Regions from separate parts of the Homo sapiens genome. Here all the other regions are linked to region 3. Evidence: promoter capture Hi-C in human tissues and cell types (Jung and others, 2019). All regions are on one chromosome and are shown on one strand. The core of a region is centred on a gene start or on the middle of the fragment in contact, and the rest is flanking DNA. Distances in the headings are between cores, read along the strand shown.

What was found. The method cuts DNA at HindIII sites, captures the fragments that hold promoters and counts their contacts. A contact is called where the count stands out against the background at its distance.
Region 1: a contact is called between a fragment that was not itself captured here and the fragment with the promoter of MCU in region 3, in 1 of the 25 tissues and cell types used here (hippocampus).
Region 2: a contact is called between a fragment that was not itself captured here and the fragment with the promoter of MCU in region 3, in 1 of the 25 tissues and cell types used here (mesenchymal stem cells).

What each region holds. Positions count from the first base shown.
Region 1 is chr10:73,135,472-73,138,597 of GRCh38, forward strand. It overlaps ECD (ecdysoneless cell cycle regulator), which reads right to left. Exons shown (of 14, transcript NM_007265.3): 12 at 2,532-2,599; 13 at 1,233-1,447. Among named protein-coding and RNA genes, the nearest start is that of SNORA11F, 11 kb to the left of the region's middle. The HindIII fragment of the contact is 3,377 bases long and covers 42-3,126 here.
Region 2 is chr10:73,022,506-73,025,460 of GRCh38, forward strand. The region is part of intron 10 of P4HA1 (prolyl 4-hydroxylase subunit alpha 1); the gene reads right to left. Among named protein-coding and RNA genes, the nearest start is that of PLA2G12B, 69 kb to the left of the region's middle. The HindIII fragment of the contact is 5,177 bases long and covers 1-2,955 here.
Region 3 is chr10:72,690,412-72,693,439 of GRCh38, forward strand. MCU (mitochondrial calcium uniporter) reads left to right here and starts at 1,732. Exons shown (of 8, transcript NM_138357.3): 1 at 1,732-1,890. The coding sequence starts at 1,741. RefSeq lists an enhancer at 1,350-1,409 and silencers at 1,610-2,069, 2,160-2,209, 2,230-2,319. The HindIII fragment of the contact is 2,893 bases long and covers 25-2,917 here.

The sequences.
Region 1 (3,126 bases), core at 480-2,979, 450 kb after region 3:
ACTTTGGGAGGCTGAGGTGGGTGGATCACTTGAGGTCAGGAGCTCCAGAGACTAGCCTGGCCAACATGGTGAAACCCTGTCTCTACTAAATATACAAAAATTAGCCAGGCACGGTGGTGCGCACCTGTAGTCCCAGCTACTTGGGAGGCTGAGGCAGGAGAATTGCTTAAACCCAGGAGGCAGAGGGTGCAGTGAGCCAAGATCGTGCCACTGTACTCCAGCCTGGGTGACAGAGGGAGACTTCCATCTCAAATAAAATAATAATAATAATAATAAAATAAAACAAAATAATAATAAAAAAAAGGAAAATCTCAAGCTTCATCCCAGGCCTACTTAATCAGAATCTATGTTGTAACATGATCTTTTGGTTTATATTCGCATTAAAATTTAAGAAATACTGCTTTAGATAAATCTAATGTATGGTTTCTACTAGATTTTGACAATTCTGGAAGTGACTATAGTTTTAAAAGTGGTTTAGATGATCAAAGCAAGGAGAATTAACATTAATTAAAGGCCTATTGTAGGTTTTACTGCTGTCTAATTTGGTTCTCATGTTAATTTTATGATATGAGGATTACTGGTTTATAGATACATTCACAGTGGACAGCTGAGCTAGACTTCAAACCCTAACCCATAAGACTCCAGGGTTCTTGCTCTTTCCATAATACCTCTGTTTAGGATTAGACAGTGGTGGCATTAAAAACTAGGATGAAAACATAAACGGAAGGTGAATCCTAAATTTGGCTCTAAATTAGGGAAAAATACAAAATAAACTGTTAAAACTGGAAAGTTATTTGAATGTTTAAGATCCTGTTTATTTACTTATGTTATTTTGTTTTAATCCACTGTGGCCCAAGGCATAGTCTCAAAAGGTCTTGAGAACATGTGCCCTCTCTTTTTTAAAATCCATTTAAGCTGTAGTTTTTTTAAACTACTTTTGAAAAAAAATGTATTTAAGAAGTAGTAGTGTACAATCGCATTCTAATTTGAGCATATTATATGACTTTTTATTTTAAATCCTGATAGATAACGTAGAATAAGTAATATAATGAAGCTTATGTTTTGGAAAATTAAGTCTATGATCCTTTATCCTACCAGAGTTAGGAAAACAATTAACATTCTTATTTATTTCAAATCTCACACACCAAAAAAAGAAAAACTATGATAAAATATGGTTTTAGCTATCTGACATACTAGACTCAGAAAGAGAAAGAGGTTAAAAACACACATACCACTTGGTTCCTAGTGGTGAAACTTTTGCTGATGCAGGTGTGTGCTAGTTCCTGGTCCATCTGGGCCATGTATGACTTGAGATTATCAAGTGTTCCTTTCAGGGAAGCCTCTTCGCCAGGTTCGTGTGTTTCAAAGTCCAAGTCATCATCACTATCTAAACATTCAAAGTCTTCATCATCCAGATCATCAGAATCTGACTCATTAGGCCTTGGCCCTACACAGATCCCAAGAAAGAAAGAGCCACTTAGTAATTATTATTATTATTATTATTATTATTATTATTTAGTTACTACACATCTCAAAATAATTAGAATGTTACCCACAGAAAAAGACTAATACACACAGTCAGTCTACTTCACAAAAATCCCTTCTACAAATGGTAATGCTGGCAGATATGTGTGCATTTAATGTTGTGGAAAAGCGTACAAGCTGAATCAAAAGATTTAGCTTAAAAAAAAGTGAATTCAATTAATTAAAATATTTTTCTTAAAAAATTTTTAAAAATACCTAATAAATGAATACATTTTGATGTAAACATTCAAGCCATACAAGTATTGTCTCCAATCTCACTCTCTCCCCAGAGGTAAGCATCTTTTAGCAGTTTCCGGGTATCCCAATCTTTCTCTCTGCAGTTCTGTACATATATACATATTATAATTATTTTTTGAGTTATCTTTTTATTACTGATTTGTAAGTACAGTAATTCCAAAAAAGAACAATATAATATGGGAGCCAAGGTAAAACCCTATTTAAACACACAGCATTCAGTCACTCTCAAATATTTAATGAGGCCGGGCACGGTGGCTCACGCCTGTAATCCCAGCACTTTGGTAGGCTGAGATGGGCGGATCATGAGGTCAGGAGATCGAGACCATCCTGGCTAACACGGTGAAACCCCGTCTCTACTAAAAATACAAAAAAATTAGCTGGGTGTGGTGGCAGGCGCCTGTAGTCCCAGTTACTCAGGAGGCTGAGGCAGAAGAATGGCATGAACCCAGGAGGCGGAGCTTGCAGTGAGCCGAGATCGTGCCACTGCACTCCAGCCTGGGCAACAGAGCGAGACACTGTCTCAAAAAAAAAAAAAAAAAATTAATGAGCAGCTACTATATATGTCAAACACTAAGCTAGGCAGCCTCTACAAAATTATTCATGGGTAGTAATTCATGGTTGAAAGCAACTCAAACCAGGAAGAGAAAGCAAACATTTTGGCTTCTGAGATATCTCATAAACCAATGCTCTAGCAACAGCCATACTACTAACAGTTTCAAAATGAAAGTCAACATCACACCACTACTTACCTAAAATCTTATCAAAATAATTAAGAAAAGAATCTGCATCAAAAGTGATTGGAGCCTCAGAAGGTTCTCTGCAATATTAAAGGACAAAGACAATTAATTTATTCTAAATACAACTCTTTGAAACTTTTCTAAAGTGGTGCCATTCTTAGGAAAGCTACCAAAGATAGAATTTCTAAGGAGGCACAGCAAGAAAAGTTGTAGTTTAAGTTTTAAAAATCCTTGAGTTTACTGGCCTTGCAGGACAACAGAAATGGGAAAGTCTGATAAATGAAAAGTAAAAATTGCATCTTGTTTATGTACATTTAGCTTATGCTGATTTAGGGACCTACCCACTCTCTAGCCCCAATAAGATATCTAGCATTAGCAAAACCATTATTTATTTGAGTTAATTTAAATAAAGCCTGTTCTTTTAAGAACTAAAGCTTAAAAAATAAACAAGAACATATCTTCCCTTATCCCTGCTTTCTTAAAGAGAGAATACCAAATATAAATTTATATCTTTCATCAGGTTCAAGAGCATCAACACTAATAATGATATATTTGATACACAAGTAACAGTTTTTTTTGTTTTGTTTTTTTTTTGAGACGGAGTCTT
Region 2 (2,955 bases), core at 391-2,890, 330 kb after region 3:
GCCAAAGGTAGACAAAACCACAAAGATGGGGAGAAACCAGAGCAGAAAAGCTGAAACTTCTAAAGATCAGAGCACCTCCTCTCCTCCAAAGGACTGCAGCTCCTCACAAGCAACAGAACAAAGCTGGACAGAGAATGACTTTGATGAGCTGACAGAAGTAGGCTTCAGAAGGTCGGTAATAACAAACCTCCCAGCTAAAGAAGCATGTTCTAAGCCATCGCAAGGAAGCTAAAACCCTTGAAAAAAGGTTAGACGAATGGCTAACTAGAACAAACAGTGTAGAGAAGACCTTGAATGACCTGATGGAGCTGAAAACCATGGCATAAGAACGTCATGGTGCATGCACAAGCTTCGGTAGCCGATTTGATCAAGTGGAACAAAGGGTATCAGTGATTGAAGATGGAATTAATGAAATAAAGCAAGAAGACAAGTTTAGAGAAAAATGAGTAGAAAGAAACAAATAAAGCCTCCAAGAAATATGGGACTATCTAAAAAGACCAAATCTATGTTTGATTGGTGTACACCTGAAAGTGACGGGGAGAATGGAAACAGGCTGAAAAACACTATTCAGGAAATTATCCAGGAGAATTTCCCCAACCTAGCAAGGCAGGCCAACAGTCAAATTCAGAAATACAGAGAACACCACAAAGATACTTCTCGAGAAGAGCAACCACAAGACACGTAATTGTCAGATTCACCAAGGCTGAAATGAAGGAAAAAATCTTAAGGGCAGCCAGAGAGAAAGGTCGGGTTACCCACAAAGGGAGGCCCATCAGACTAACAGTGGATCTCTCTGCAGAAACCCTACAAGCAAGAAGAGAGTGGGGGCCAATATTCAACATTCTTAAAAAAAAGAATTTTCAACCCAGAATTTCATATCCAGCCAAACTAAGCTTTCTAAATAAAGGAGAAATAAAATCCTTTGCAGACAAGCAAATGCTGAGAGATTTTGTCACCACCAGGCCTGTCTTACAAGAGCTCCTGAAGGAAGCACTAAACATGGAAAGGAACAACTGGTACCAGCCACTGCAAAAACATGCCAAATTATAAAGACCATCGATGCTATGAAGAAACCGCATCAATTAACGAGCAAAATAACCAGCGAACATCATAATGACAGGATCAAATTCACATATAACAATATTAGCCTTAAATGTAAATGGGCTAAATGTCCCAATGAAAAGGCACAGACTGGCAAATTGGATAAAGAGTCAAGACCCATCAGGAGACACATCTCATGTGCAGAGACACACATAGGCTCAAAATAAAGGGATGGAGGAAGATCTACGAAGCAAATGGAAAGAAAAAAAAAAAAAAAAGCAGCGGCTGCAATCCTAGTCTCTGATCAAACAGACTTTAAACCAACACAGATCAAAAGAGACAAAGAAGGCCATTACGTAATGGTATAGGGATCAATTCAACAAGAAGTGCTAACTATTCTAAATATATATGCACCCAATACAGGGGCACCCAGATTCATAAGGCAAGTCCTTAGAGTCCTAAAAAGAGACTTAGACTCTCACACAATAATAATGAGAGACTTTAACACTCCACTGTCAATATGAGATCAACAAGACAGAAGGTTAACAAGAATATCCAGGACTGGAACTCAGCTCTGCACTAAGCAGACCATTATAATAGACATCTACAGAACTCTGTCCACCCCAAATCAACAGAATATACATTCTTCTCAGCACCACATCACACTTATTCTAAAACTGACCACATAATTGGAAGTAAAGCACTCCTCAGCAAATGTAAAAGAACAGAAATCACAACAAACTGTCTCTCAGACCACAGTGCAATCAAATTAGAACTCAGGATTAAGAAACTCACTCAAAACCACACAACTACATGGAAACTGAACAACCTGCTCCTGAATGACTACTGGGTAAATAACGAAATGAAGGCAGAAATAAACATGTTCTTTGAAACCAATGAGAACAAAGACACAACGTACCAGAATCTCTGGGACACATTTAAAGCAGTGTAGAGGAAAATTTATAGCACTAAATGCCCACAAGAGAAAGCAAGAAAGACCTAAAATCGACACCCTAACATCACAATTAAAAGAACAAGAGAAGCAAGAGCAAACAAATTCAAAAGCTAGCAGAAGGCAAGAAATAACTCAGATCAAAGCAGAACTGAAAGAGATACAGACATAAAAAACCCTTCAAAAAATCAATGAATCCAGGAGCTGGTTTTTTGAAAAGATCAACAAAATTGATAGACAGCTAGCAAGACTAATAAAGAAGAAAAGAGAGAATAATCAAATAGACACAGTAAAAAATGATAAAGGGGATATCACCACAGATCCCACAGAAATACAAACTACCATCAGAGAATACTATAAACACCTCTATGCAAATAAACTAGAAAATCTAGAAGAAATGGATAAATTCCTGGACACATACACCCAAGACCAAACCAGGAAGAAGTTGAATCTCTGAATAGAAAAATAACAGACTCTGAAATTGAGGCAATAACAGCCTACCAACTAAAAAAAGTTCAGGACCAGATGGATTCACAGCCGAATTCTATCAGAGGTACTAAGAGGAGCTGGTACCATTCCTTCTGAAACTATTCCAATCAACAGAAAAAGAGGGAATCCTCCCTAACTCATTTTATGAGGCCAGTATCATCCTGATACCAAAGCCTGGCAGAGACACAACAAAAAAAGAGAATTTTAGGCCAATATCGCTGATGAACATCGACGCAAAAATCCAACCGAATCCAGCAGCACATCAAAAAGCTTATCCACCACAATCAAGTCAGCTTCATCCCTGGGATGCAAGGCTGGTTCAACATACACAAATCAATAAACGTAATCCATCACATAAACAGAACCAATGACAAAAACCACATGATTATCTCAATAGATGCAGAAAAGGCCTTTGACAAAATTCAACAGCCCTTCATGCTGAAAATGCGGTAAACTAGGTATTGATGGAACAT
Region 3 (3,028 bases), core at 482-2,981:
AATAATTGTAAGGGAAATTGTTCCAGGAATGTCATGGATTTCCAACTAGGGGGATTACTGTGTGCAGCTGTTGAATGGGGGCTCATTCTTGAGGTCTCAAGTTCCACCTGTTGGGCAATAAAGCCTTTTGAGTGAGTGACATGATATCTACCCCGGAGAAGCCAATCATCTCACTGTTTTGGTGTAGGTGGGGCATAAGGATTAAACAAACAAAAAACTTCCACGTCATTTTTTAGCTATTCTTGGCCAAGAAGGTACCATTTCAGTCAAACTTTAAAGAATATTCTTAGAATAAGTGATAACATTTTCTTCGTATTTATGTGTGTGTTTTGTTTTTGTTTTAAATTTATCATCTAAGGCTACACTACAAAGATGTTTTCCAAAATTTAAAATAATGCTTGTATTTGCTTCCCAAACTATTTTCCTGCTCCAGATTTTAAAAAGAGGTGTGAGAATTTAATCAGCTCATAATAATAAACAGCTAGCAAGGAAATACTCTTCTAAGGAAATTCAGGACCCAAAATCTTTCTTAGGCAGTATTCAAGGAGCCCTCATTGTGAGTTTAAGTGGAAAGAAGTGTTTTTCAAGAGAAAGTGTTTGTTATTCCAAAGCGTATTCTGATAACTATTTCGGCAAAATTATGAAGCATCATTAAAATAGCCTTTTACATGAATTTTTTTTTTTTTTTTTGAGATGGAGTCTTGCTGTGTCGCCCAGGCTGGAGTGCAATGGCCCGATCTCGGTTCACTGCAAGCTCCGTCTCCCGGGTTCACACCATTCTCCTGCCTCAGCCTCCGGAATAGCTGGGACTATAAGCGCCCGCCACCACGCCTGGCTAATTTTTTGTATTTTTAGTACAGATGGGGTTTCACCGTGTTAGCCAGGATGGTCTCGATCTCCTGACCTCGTGATCCGCCCGCCTCTGCCTCCCAAAGTGCTGGGATTACAGGCGTGAGCCACCGCGCCCGGCCTTACATGATTTTTTATTACGTTATTAATGTGTTCTGTTTCTGTAAATGCACACAAAGTCAAATATGATAAAATAGTGCTGTTTCTGGAGAGTGTGAGAATATCCGTATAAAGGTGCTGTAAAAATGAATTGGGTATTTGAGATGTATACACGTCAGTTAATTCACTCTGAAGGCATGTACTCATTCTGGGACTTTGATATTGTAATCGTTCTACCTCTCCTATATTATGCTACGCATCACAGTCATTAGATCACTCCGTGATGTAGAGTTAATTTCAGCATATCTAAATATTATCAGTTATGAATGATAATTCTAGGCGTGTAGTTGAGAGTTACAGCATACACCGTTAATGGTTATTAATTTGGTGCCTATTTTGCCAACTTAGAACACTCACTTAGAACTCAACTTCGAACAAAGCTTTTCACAAATATCTATATCCCCCGTTACTCTTATCATAGCTCTATTGTTGGTGAAGATTAGCCGAACTGAACATGCCATCTCTATTGCTGTTATTTTCACGGGTTTGGGTGTCAATTATGGGTTCCCTAGAATTTGCCCGTAATTGACTATGTCCCACTATAGGTAACTCTGGAAGGGACTGGCAGCTTCCAGTGTGGTTCTCCCGCCTGTCGATTGGACCTTGCAGGAAGCCCCGCCTCATCAACTCAGTCAAGGGCTTTAGTTGGCCCGGCGTCGGTGAGTGGCGGGTCTTAGCTCCGCCCTGGCCGTCCGCTGCGCTGCCTGGGTCGGCGCCGTTTCCAGTTGAGAGATGGCGGCCGCCGCAGGTAGATCGCTCCTGCTGCTCCTCTCCTCTCGGGGCGGCGGCGGCGGGGGCGCCGGCGGCTGCGGGGCGCTGACTGCCGGCTGCTTCCCTGGGCTGGGCGTCAGCCGCCACCGGCAGCAGCAGCACCACCGGACGGTGAGCGAGCGCGCCCGGAGGCTCCGGGGAGGGCGGGGCGGCGCTGGCGTGTGGGAGCCGCCGGCGGGCAGGCCGCCGGGGCAGCAGGCGAGTTACCTCAACTCCCGGCCGCTCCGGAGGTTGCCGGGCACCGAGGAGCCGCCGTGCCCTTCAGGCGCCTGCGGCGGCGACCAGGAAGGGAGGGCGGGCGGGAGGAAGCCGAGAGGAGGAGGAGGGGCGACGGCGGGGATGTTCCCGCAGGACTGGGGACACCAGGGCGGGGAAGGCACGGGACTTGAACCTCTCCCCGACTCGCCCCCAATCGCGTTCCCTCCCTTCTTCGTTCTTAACAGCCCTGCCCCAAGGCTCCCTGAACGGAGCCAGATGGAAGTTGTCCCCTTTCCCTCCTCCTCCGGGCGGGTTGGGGAGTTCTGAGTTGCCGCGGCCGCCTTGTGTGTGCCAGGAGAGTGGCAGTGCCATGCTGCTGGGAGCTGCCCCGGAGAGCAGCCCAGGACCCCGGCGGGGCCGCCCCTCGTCCTCTCTCGTCCCCGAGGGGTCGGGCAGGAAGGAAAATCAAACTTTATTCCCCTCTGTGACTTCCTCTGTGTGTGTGCATGGGGAACCGGCTCCCTCGAGATGGATGCTGCATTGCTTCAGGAGGCAAGCTTCATCCTCTTGGGTCCTTAAAGGTGCTTTTGGGGGTCCTTTCGAGGGCTACTGTATAAGCGTGTTCACGCGTGCCTGAAGCGGGAAGGGTGGTCAGCAGGCACAGGAGAAGCGAATATGGTAAGTTGTTGACAGAGGCAGAGATTTGGTGGTTGTATTAACCAGTTGTTGCTGGGTTTCATTGGCTGGCAGAAAAAGAGGATTTCTGTTTGAACACTCTTGGGTGAGTGTGTGTGTGTGTGTGTGTGTGTGTGAGAGAGAGAGAGACAGAGTGTGAGAGAGATTTCTTTTTTCAATTGCAAGAGATGAATTTGGCATGGAGTTCTTAACCTAACAAGTCAGGAGGTTTCCTTCCCTTGGACTTTCTAGACCTATATGTGTTGGTCTCTGGCCAGCTCTGAGGGAAAGAATGTAGGTTTTATTTGCTGGGGCTGAGTTGTATAGTGTGATTATTGGAGGATCACTGCAAACAGCTTGATAGGAGAAACTACAA